Regions from separate parts of the Homo sapiens genome. Here region 2 is linked to region 1. Evidence: promoter capture Hi-C in human tissues and cell types (Jung and others, 2019). All regions are on one chromosome and are shown on one strand. The core of a region is centred on a gene start or on the middle of the fragment in contact, and the rest is flanking DNA. Distances in the headings are between cores, read along the strand shown.

Evidence for each region. Contacts are between HindIII fragments. The study calls those that stand out against the background at their distance.
Region 2: a fragment that was not itself captured here is called in contact with the fragment with the promoter of TFF3 in region 1 in 1 of the 25 tissues and cell types used here (lymphoblastoid cells).

Annotation. Positions count from the first base shown.
Region 1 is chr21:42,314,138-42,317,731 of GRCh38, forward strand. It overlaps TFF3 (trefoil factor 3), which reads right to left and starts at 1,272. Exons shown (of 3, transcript NM_003226.4): 1 at 1,156-1,272. The coding sequence starts at 1,237. RefSeq lists enhancers at 2,372-2,991, 2,992-3,594. The HindIII fragment of the contact is 18,141 bases long and covers 1-3,594 here.
Region 2 is chr21:42,277,959-42,281,688 of GRCh38, forward strand. All of the region lies in intron 5 of ABCG1 (ATP binding cassette subfamily G member 1), which reads left to right. Among named protein-coding and RNA genes, the nearest start is that of TFF3, 36 kb to the right of the region's middle. The HindIII fragment of the contact is 7,808 bases long and covers 1-3,730 here.

The DNA of each region.
Region 1 (3,594 bases), core at 22-2,521:
ACATCCTTCAGTCCCCAATATTTTCATGTTTCAGGCAAGCCTCTATGTCTGTATGTGCAGCAGAAGTTCACTGCGTTTCATTAACGAACTGAGTATTTCCTTAGGAAAATGGCAATCACGTGCAGTGTCTTACATTCCCTTCTCTTGCTCCCAGTCCGTAATTGCTTATCCTCCTGGCATCCAAACTTCGCTCACACTGGAATCAGCTGCAGAGCTTTAAAAATGACTGACGTTGGCTGGGCATGGTGGCTTACACCTGTAATTCCAGCACTTTGGGAGGCCAAGGCAGGAGGATCACTTGAGGCCAGGAGTTTGAGACCAGCTTGGCCAACATAGCGAAACTCCATCTCTACTAAAAATCCAAAAAATTAGCTGGGCATGGTGGTGCATGCCTGTAATCCCAGCTACTTGAAGCCGAGGCACAAGAATTGCTTGAACCCAGGAGGCGGAGGTTGCAGTGAGCTGAGATTGTGCCACTGCACTCCAGCAGTGAGTGACAAAGCAAGGCTATCTCAAAACAAAACAGCTGAGGCCTGGATCTTGCCTGGAGATGCCCTGATGTAACTGGTGTGCCCCAAGCATTAGGATTTTTAAAGCTCTCCAGGTGATTCTAATGGGCTGCAAGTTCGGGAACCACTGCCTTTGACCCTGCTCAGAAGACACCCAGATAAAAGCCATGCCCTCATTCCTTCAAACTTGGGTTAATGGAGCAGCCACACCCCATGGCAGGGTTGCTATGCAATGGCTAAATGAACCTTGTGCCTGCCGGTATTGACAGTGTTCTGAAGTCAGGGTTTTTCTCCTGCATCTTTCCTTTTTCTTTGTAAATGTGGAACAATGCATAAAGACCTATATTGTAATTTAGAAATCTCCAGCAAAGATGGCTATGGGGTCATAGGGGATGGGCTCAGGCTCAAACCCTGATTTCAACACAGACTGGGCAGGGCTGCCTTGGATAAGTTGTTAACTTTCTCTGAGCCTCGGTTTCCTTGTCTGTGAAATGGGGACAATAAAGACCCACTTCAAAGGGCTAGCGCAGGAAAAAGTGTATATGTGACAGGTGGCCATTATTAAATGAATGCAGAATCCCCCCTTATCCTGGATCCCTTCCCTTCACGCCCACCCTGCCACCGGGGCAGTCAGGGCAGTACTCACACAGGCCCACGTACTCCTCAGCAGAGCTGGAGGACAGCAAGGCCAGGACCAGCCCCAGCATGCAGAGCGCTCTGGCAGCCATGACCACCGTGGGCTCCGGGACGCAGCTCAGGACTCGCTTCATGGTCCAGGAGGCCTCATTTATGCACCGTTGTTTGCACAGCTGCTCTGGATTGTTTGCTTGGGGAAGGCTCTCCCTCCTGGCTGTGGCTGCTCCTGTTCTCTCCTGCATGCCTTTGTCAAGCTCCCAGACAGTTTTTCTCTCCCAAAGGGGAGAGGTCAGTTCAGCCCCCACTGTTTTGGCAGCAAGCGGTAAGGGCGGATTCCAGTTCTGGTTCCGGGTCCTCTACTGGGGAGCGGATGTGTGTCAATTGCCCTCCTAGCCTGGCCTGGTGTAGTGTGCAGGAGCCATGTGGGGTGGCAGGACCAGGGTGTGGTGTCCGTTCCATCTCAGCCTCCCAGCCAGAAGCCCTCAGAACACCCCTGGTCCCATGACAAGAGAGCCCCAGGCTGCTTCATCCCAGATCGGCCTCGGAGACAGGCAGCTCTGAGTGAGTCAGGACCCTGCGGCTCTCTCACAACTCCTGAAACACAGAGATTCCTTGTCTTTCCTTTTTGCTTTCTCCCCTAAAAATTAGTAACTACATTTTAATAAGTGGATGAAATGAATTGATTGAAAATATGTTAGTAAAAACATGGTACACATAATTGATTTTTAAAATCAAATAATACAAAAGAGCCTTTCCTATCCAGAGGCATCTATTGATCTATTGTGAACACTTTTTTAGGTATCCTTTCAGAATTTTTCTCTCTGGATCTAAGCACGTTTTTTTGGTTTGTTTTTGTTTGTTTGTTTGTTTTGTTTTTTTTTTGTTTTTTTTTTGTTTTTTTTTTTTGGAGACAGGGTCTTGCTCTGTTACCCAGGCTGGAGTGCAGTGGCACAATCTCAACTCACTGAGACCCCCGCCCTCGCGGGGCTCAAGTGATCCTCCCACCTCAGCCTCCTAAGTAGCTGGGCCACAGGCATGTGTCCAGCTAATATTTTGTATTTTTTTAGAGACCAGGTGTCGCCATGTTGGCCAGGCTGGTCTCAGACTCCTGGACTCAAGTGATCTGCCTTCCTTGGCCTCCCAAAGTGTCAGGATTACAGGCATGAGCCACTGCACTCGGCCACATTTTTAACACAAACAGGAACTGACTCTCCACCTTTGCCCAGCGTGCTCTTTTAAAAACTAAAGACTACATCTCAGGAATTGTTTTATAACAACATATCAGATGAGACAGCGATGATTCTATCCATTTTCCAGAGGAAGAAACTAAGACTCAACATTTCCGGTGCCTATCAGAGGTTACTCCAGTGTCCCTGGTATAGCTGGTATTTAACCCACTCCCAGGACCCTAAGCCTCCGCCCTCGGCATCCGCAGCATCCCCCAACCCCCCAACCTCCTGCAGTGGACTGGCTGGTAGTGGGCAAGAGACTAATCTCATTCCAGGAAAACGGGCCCCTAGATTTTGTGTTCTCCGTGTTTCTTTTCCAGGGAGGCATTTTGATGACCCCCACTGGCCCTTCCAGGAGCCTCTGTCTGAAGGGTGGACTTGGTTTATCACCCCGAGAAATGGGAGCGCCTGGCTGCTTGGATTTAGCCTGCAGCTGGGGTCCCCGGTGGTGTGTGCAGGGCGGCCTTGAGCCTCCAAGGGTGCATCCACAAACTGCCCTTCCCCGAGTGACCCATGGGAGCTCGATGGCGTACGTGCTGAGCACCAGGATGTGTCCTGCCCTGTGACTCCCAGGCCCCGCCCTTGCGCTCAGCACGCCCTTTGTGGATGGATTTGAGGGCCCCTGGCCTCTGATGTGCCACTCCCGCTGAGGCCAGCGAAGGAGGAAGAAGGAAAGAGCGTTGCCTGCCTTGTTTTCGGGGCACTCACTTTTTCTGGGAGACAGCGGACCCAGGTTCATCAATGGACAGCAGGATTTTCATGTTATTAAAAAGGTCATTGTAGGGGAAATCCCTGGGGGATCTGGTGAGATCTCCCTGGGGGATCTGGTGAGATCTCCCTGCCTTCCCACTGCTCCTAGTACCCAGAGGCCAGGCCAGGTCGTGGTGCAGGGCTGAGTTCCAGGAGGGTGCAAACACCCCAGGAACAGACTGCTGCCCCTCCGGCCCTCATGACCTGCTGGGGAAGGACCCCCGCAAGGAGCTTCTGCAGGTGCTGTGGTCTCCACCTGCTGCACTCAAAATTGCCTGGAGTGGGGAGAATATCAATGCCTGGGCCCCGCCCTGACAGGTGGTTCTGTCGCCTGTGATTCTTCTCTGCGGCCAGCACCGAGAACCCTGCTGGGGTTTGCTTCCGTTTAACTAGTGAATGTTGACTGAGCTCCTACTGCCTACACCCAGGGTTTAGGGCTGGGGAAGGAATAACAAAGGTGACACATTCTT
Region 2 (3,730 bases), core at 705-3,204, 35 kb before region 1:
CCCATCAACTGTGCCCTTCAAAACTCAGGATTCAGCCCGTGTCACCGGGGCTGGGGGGTGAAATGCCCGGTGCAGGTGGAAAGAGCCTAATGTCTGAGAGAAGGAAAATGACTCTTTGTTGCTACAGAAAATGTTCTGTGTGGAATTCTTTTATTCTGAGATTGAAAAGAAAATGGATGAGTGGAAACCAAAAGAGAGAAAATGTGGAAATCACATGTGTTCCTGGCCCTTCATGGGGGCAGAAGACCCAGCCTTGTGAGTTTATTGTCTAGGCTGAAAGGCGAGAGCCCCCTCTGGATAGTGTTTTCTAAACAATGTAACGTAGACACCCCCCCACAACACACACACCACCTCCCAAGCCCGAGAATGTTACTTATACCAAGTTATGGAAGATGAGTGTTATGGCCTGAATTCCCCCCAAAAGATGATATGTTAAAGCCTACACCCCAGAAACCCAGAAATGGCTGTATTTGAAGATCGGGTCTTTACAGAAGTAATGAAGTTAAAATGGGGTCATATGGGTGGGCCTCAGTCCAGTCTAACTGTGTCCCTGTAAGAAGAGGAGAGGAGGACCCAGACACACCAAGGGATGGCCCCGTGAGGACACAGGGAGGAGGCGGCATCTGCCAGCCCAGGAGAGGGGCCTCAGGAACCAACCCTGCTGCCCTCGATCTCAGACTTTGGCCTCCAGAATTGAGGCGGGAGTTTCTGTTGTGGAAACCAGCCAGTGTGGGGGACTTCGTTACAGCAGTGAACGTAACAAACGAGAGCCTTAGTTCCAGGCACACAGAAGAACATGGAGAAAAGCAGGTGTCAGAGCTGAGTCTCGGCGAAGTCTCCCATGGGAGATGAACCCAAATCAACAGAACGGGGCCCTGGGATTGAGCCAGGGCGACCTTCACTCTCCCTGTCTGAGGTCAGTTTTGCCACCCCCCAGTCCTGGGCCCTCCTTGCCATCAGCTACAGGACAAGAGGAGAGGCCGGCAAGAGTGTGCAGGGCCCCCATGAAGCAGAGGCTTTTCCACCCGGAGACTCAAGAAGCTGCTCCTCCCGAAGCCTGGATGCAGTGCCCCTGGATCCGCCTTTCAGGGCCCTCCTTCCCATCCCCCGGCCTCCCTGCTTTCATGGGGTGTCGGAAGCACAATCCAATCTCTTTGTCTCGGATAGCCCTCCATCGAGGTCCCAAAGACCCCTCCAGATGCTGGCCTGCAAGCTGAGGGGCGGCTGTGGGGGCTCCAAGGAGAGACGGTGGAAGTGGTCACTGATGCTCGGCGTGGAGGAGGAGCCAAGAGCTCTGGAGAGGGAGGCGCTGGAGAGAGGGAATTCTGTCTCTCTGACCCAAAATAAGGCCCAAGGACAGAGCAAACGGTGGAGAGGGTCTCGGGGATCACCGGAGGCCGGGGGAGCAGACGCAGGAGGCGGAGGGCGGAGAGACTTGCTAACACGGAGAGGCCCTGTGGTGAAGTAGAGCTGAGCACACGGGGGAGCCCTCCATCCTGGCCTCCTGGAACCCACCGGATGGCCTTGGGCCACTGCCTGCTGTGCCCCGAGCCGAGCTTCACCTGTAACGTGGGGACAGGAAGCCAGGCCCCACCTGCCTTTTGGGGCAGTGCAACCTGAACTGGATGGTTTCTTTAAGGTCTCTGAGCTCGATGGAGCCCATGTGATCCATATGGGAGGGGCTGTGGGATTGCTTCCCTGCAGCATAAGGCGACAGCCACCAGCCTTTTCCGGGGTAGCTGGTGAAAGTCGCTCTCCCCATGGGCTGGGCGCACAGTGAGTGCTGCTCAGCAGGCTCCGTGCTGAAGTCACAGCAAGCCAGGCCCTTGGCCTGCCGGAGCTGGAAGACCCAGAACAAGCTGGCATCTTGGTGGAGAATGGAGGCGCCTCCCAGGAGTAGCTACACGGGACCCGAAGGCAGATGGCACCCATAGGTGTGTGTCCTCGTGGTGCCTGGGCCCTGCCTAAGACACGGCCCGGATGAGAGCCTCCAGCTATTTTCAACTGGGTTTACAAGGGCAAAAATATCAGCTCATGTGGCTGAATCATCCCTGAGGGGTGAGCCCCTGGCGCCGTCCTCAGATTCCTCTTCGGCTGGATTGAACAATGCAGAGAGCCCTCCCCACAGGACCTGGAGGCCACGCTGCGTCCTGCACATGCTCCTCACCAGCAGACCCAGCTGTTCCTCAGCCATGGCACAGGTGCATGCCTCGCCATCGGGCCCACCATCAGGATTGCTTCAGGAGAACAGGGCAGCAACTTTGTGCCTTCACTCACTTCCCTCCAACCCCCGATGTGCACCTAGGTCAAAGTTCTCTCTCTGTCTCATGGAAACACAATGGGATGGAATGTTCTAGAAGATCATGGAATTTTTGCTGTGTTGTTCACGGCCTTCCTTAATTCCCAGCAAAGCAGCCTCAGCCCTCCAGAGCCCTCCAGCAAGGCCACTTCCTCAGGAGTGAGGTCTCCAGGGGCAGCCTGGGCTGCCGAGATCCTCCCTGGAGCGCCCGCCGGGAAGCCCCAGGGGGGCTGGAGCTACAAGTGGCCTTGCAGGTTTTTTGTTTGTTTGTTTAGGGAAAATGTATAAATAACTGAGATCATTGTTTGTTCTTTCTGACTAGTCTTTAAAACAGAACCCTTCTGGGTGGCATCACTCCTGAGCGGACACTGGAGAAAGTGGGGTGGGCCCAGCTCATGGGCAGGGGTGCGGAGGGAAAGGCACCCACAGCGGCCTCCGCTTCCAGCATCCCCTCCGTGAGGGTGGAGGGAGAGAAGAAGATGTGCCGCATGTGTGGGGCCCCCACAGTGAGCCTGGAAGCACCAGAGCCACTCAGTCGGCCAAGAGCGTCGCCCAGTGGTTCCAGAAGATCTGGAGGCCTCGTCCTGGGAAGACCAGCAGTCGATGCCAGCTGGGAAGAGGGCTCTGCCCACCTTGCACGCCCCCCACCCACCAGCCTTTTCCAGACAGCCTTCCAGAAGCTGTTTCTGGGTTGGCGGCCCTCAGAGCCAGGCATCCAGCAGAGGCACCAGGGCTGGGGTGAGGGCATCAGCAAGGAGGTTCAGGACAGGGCTGGAGCCCAGGTCGGCTGACCCTGTACTGCCACCTGCCCTGGCCTGTCCAGCAGCCGTGCCCCGGTTCTTTCTGTCACCAAAGCTGCACTTTGTACCGACTGTGCATAAATAATTCAGAAGCTCAGAGTGGAAATTTTCTTCCTCGTGAGTTCTTCCTCCCTTCAGATGACTTCATCTCCCTAGAGGAGCCGCTGGAGTAGGGTCCGCTTGCTATGGCTCCCAGGGGCCGGCCACCACAGGGCTGCCCTGGCAGGGTGGGGACAATAGCTGGGTGAATGCTGGAGGGAGCTCCAGGTGGGCTGTCCCCAGGGTAGGGAGGCAGGGATGGCAGTGGCTGACCCAGGGCCTGCTTCTGAGATGATGCTGGGGCTGAAAGCAGCACCAAGCCAGCACAGAAATCTGCTGACCTTCGTGTTCCCTGAGTCGATACAGGATCAATAATCCGGAGCAGACAGGGAGGGCTCCGTGCGCAGTGCCCTGCTTGTTCCTGGCGTGCAGCCTGCTTCCCAGAGCCTGTGCCGTGGTGTGGCTACCGTGGGTCATGACTGCTTTGAGGGGTACTGCAGATCTGTTTCGTTGCCTTCCTGGCACCTCAGAGACCTTGCTTTCAAGTCAAACCTATTTACAAGAACAAAAGTGACTCTGTCCCCCTCCCCGA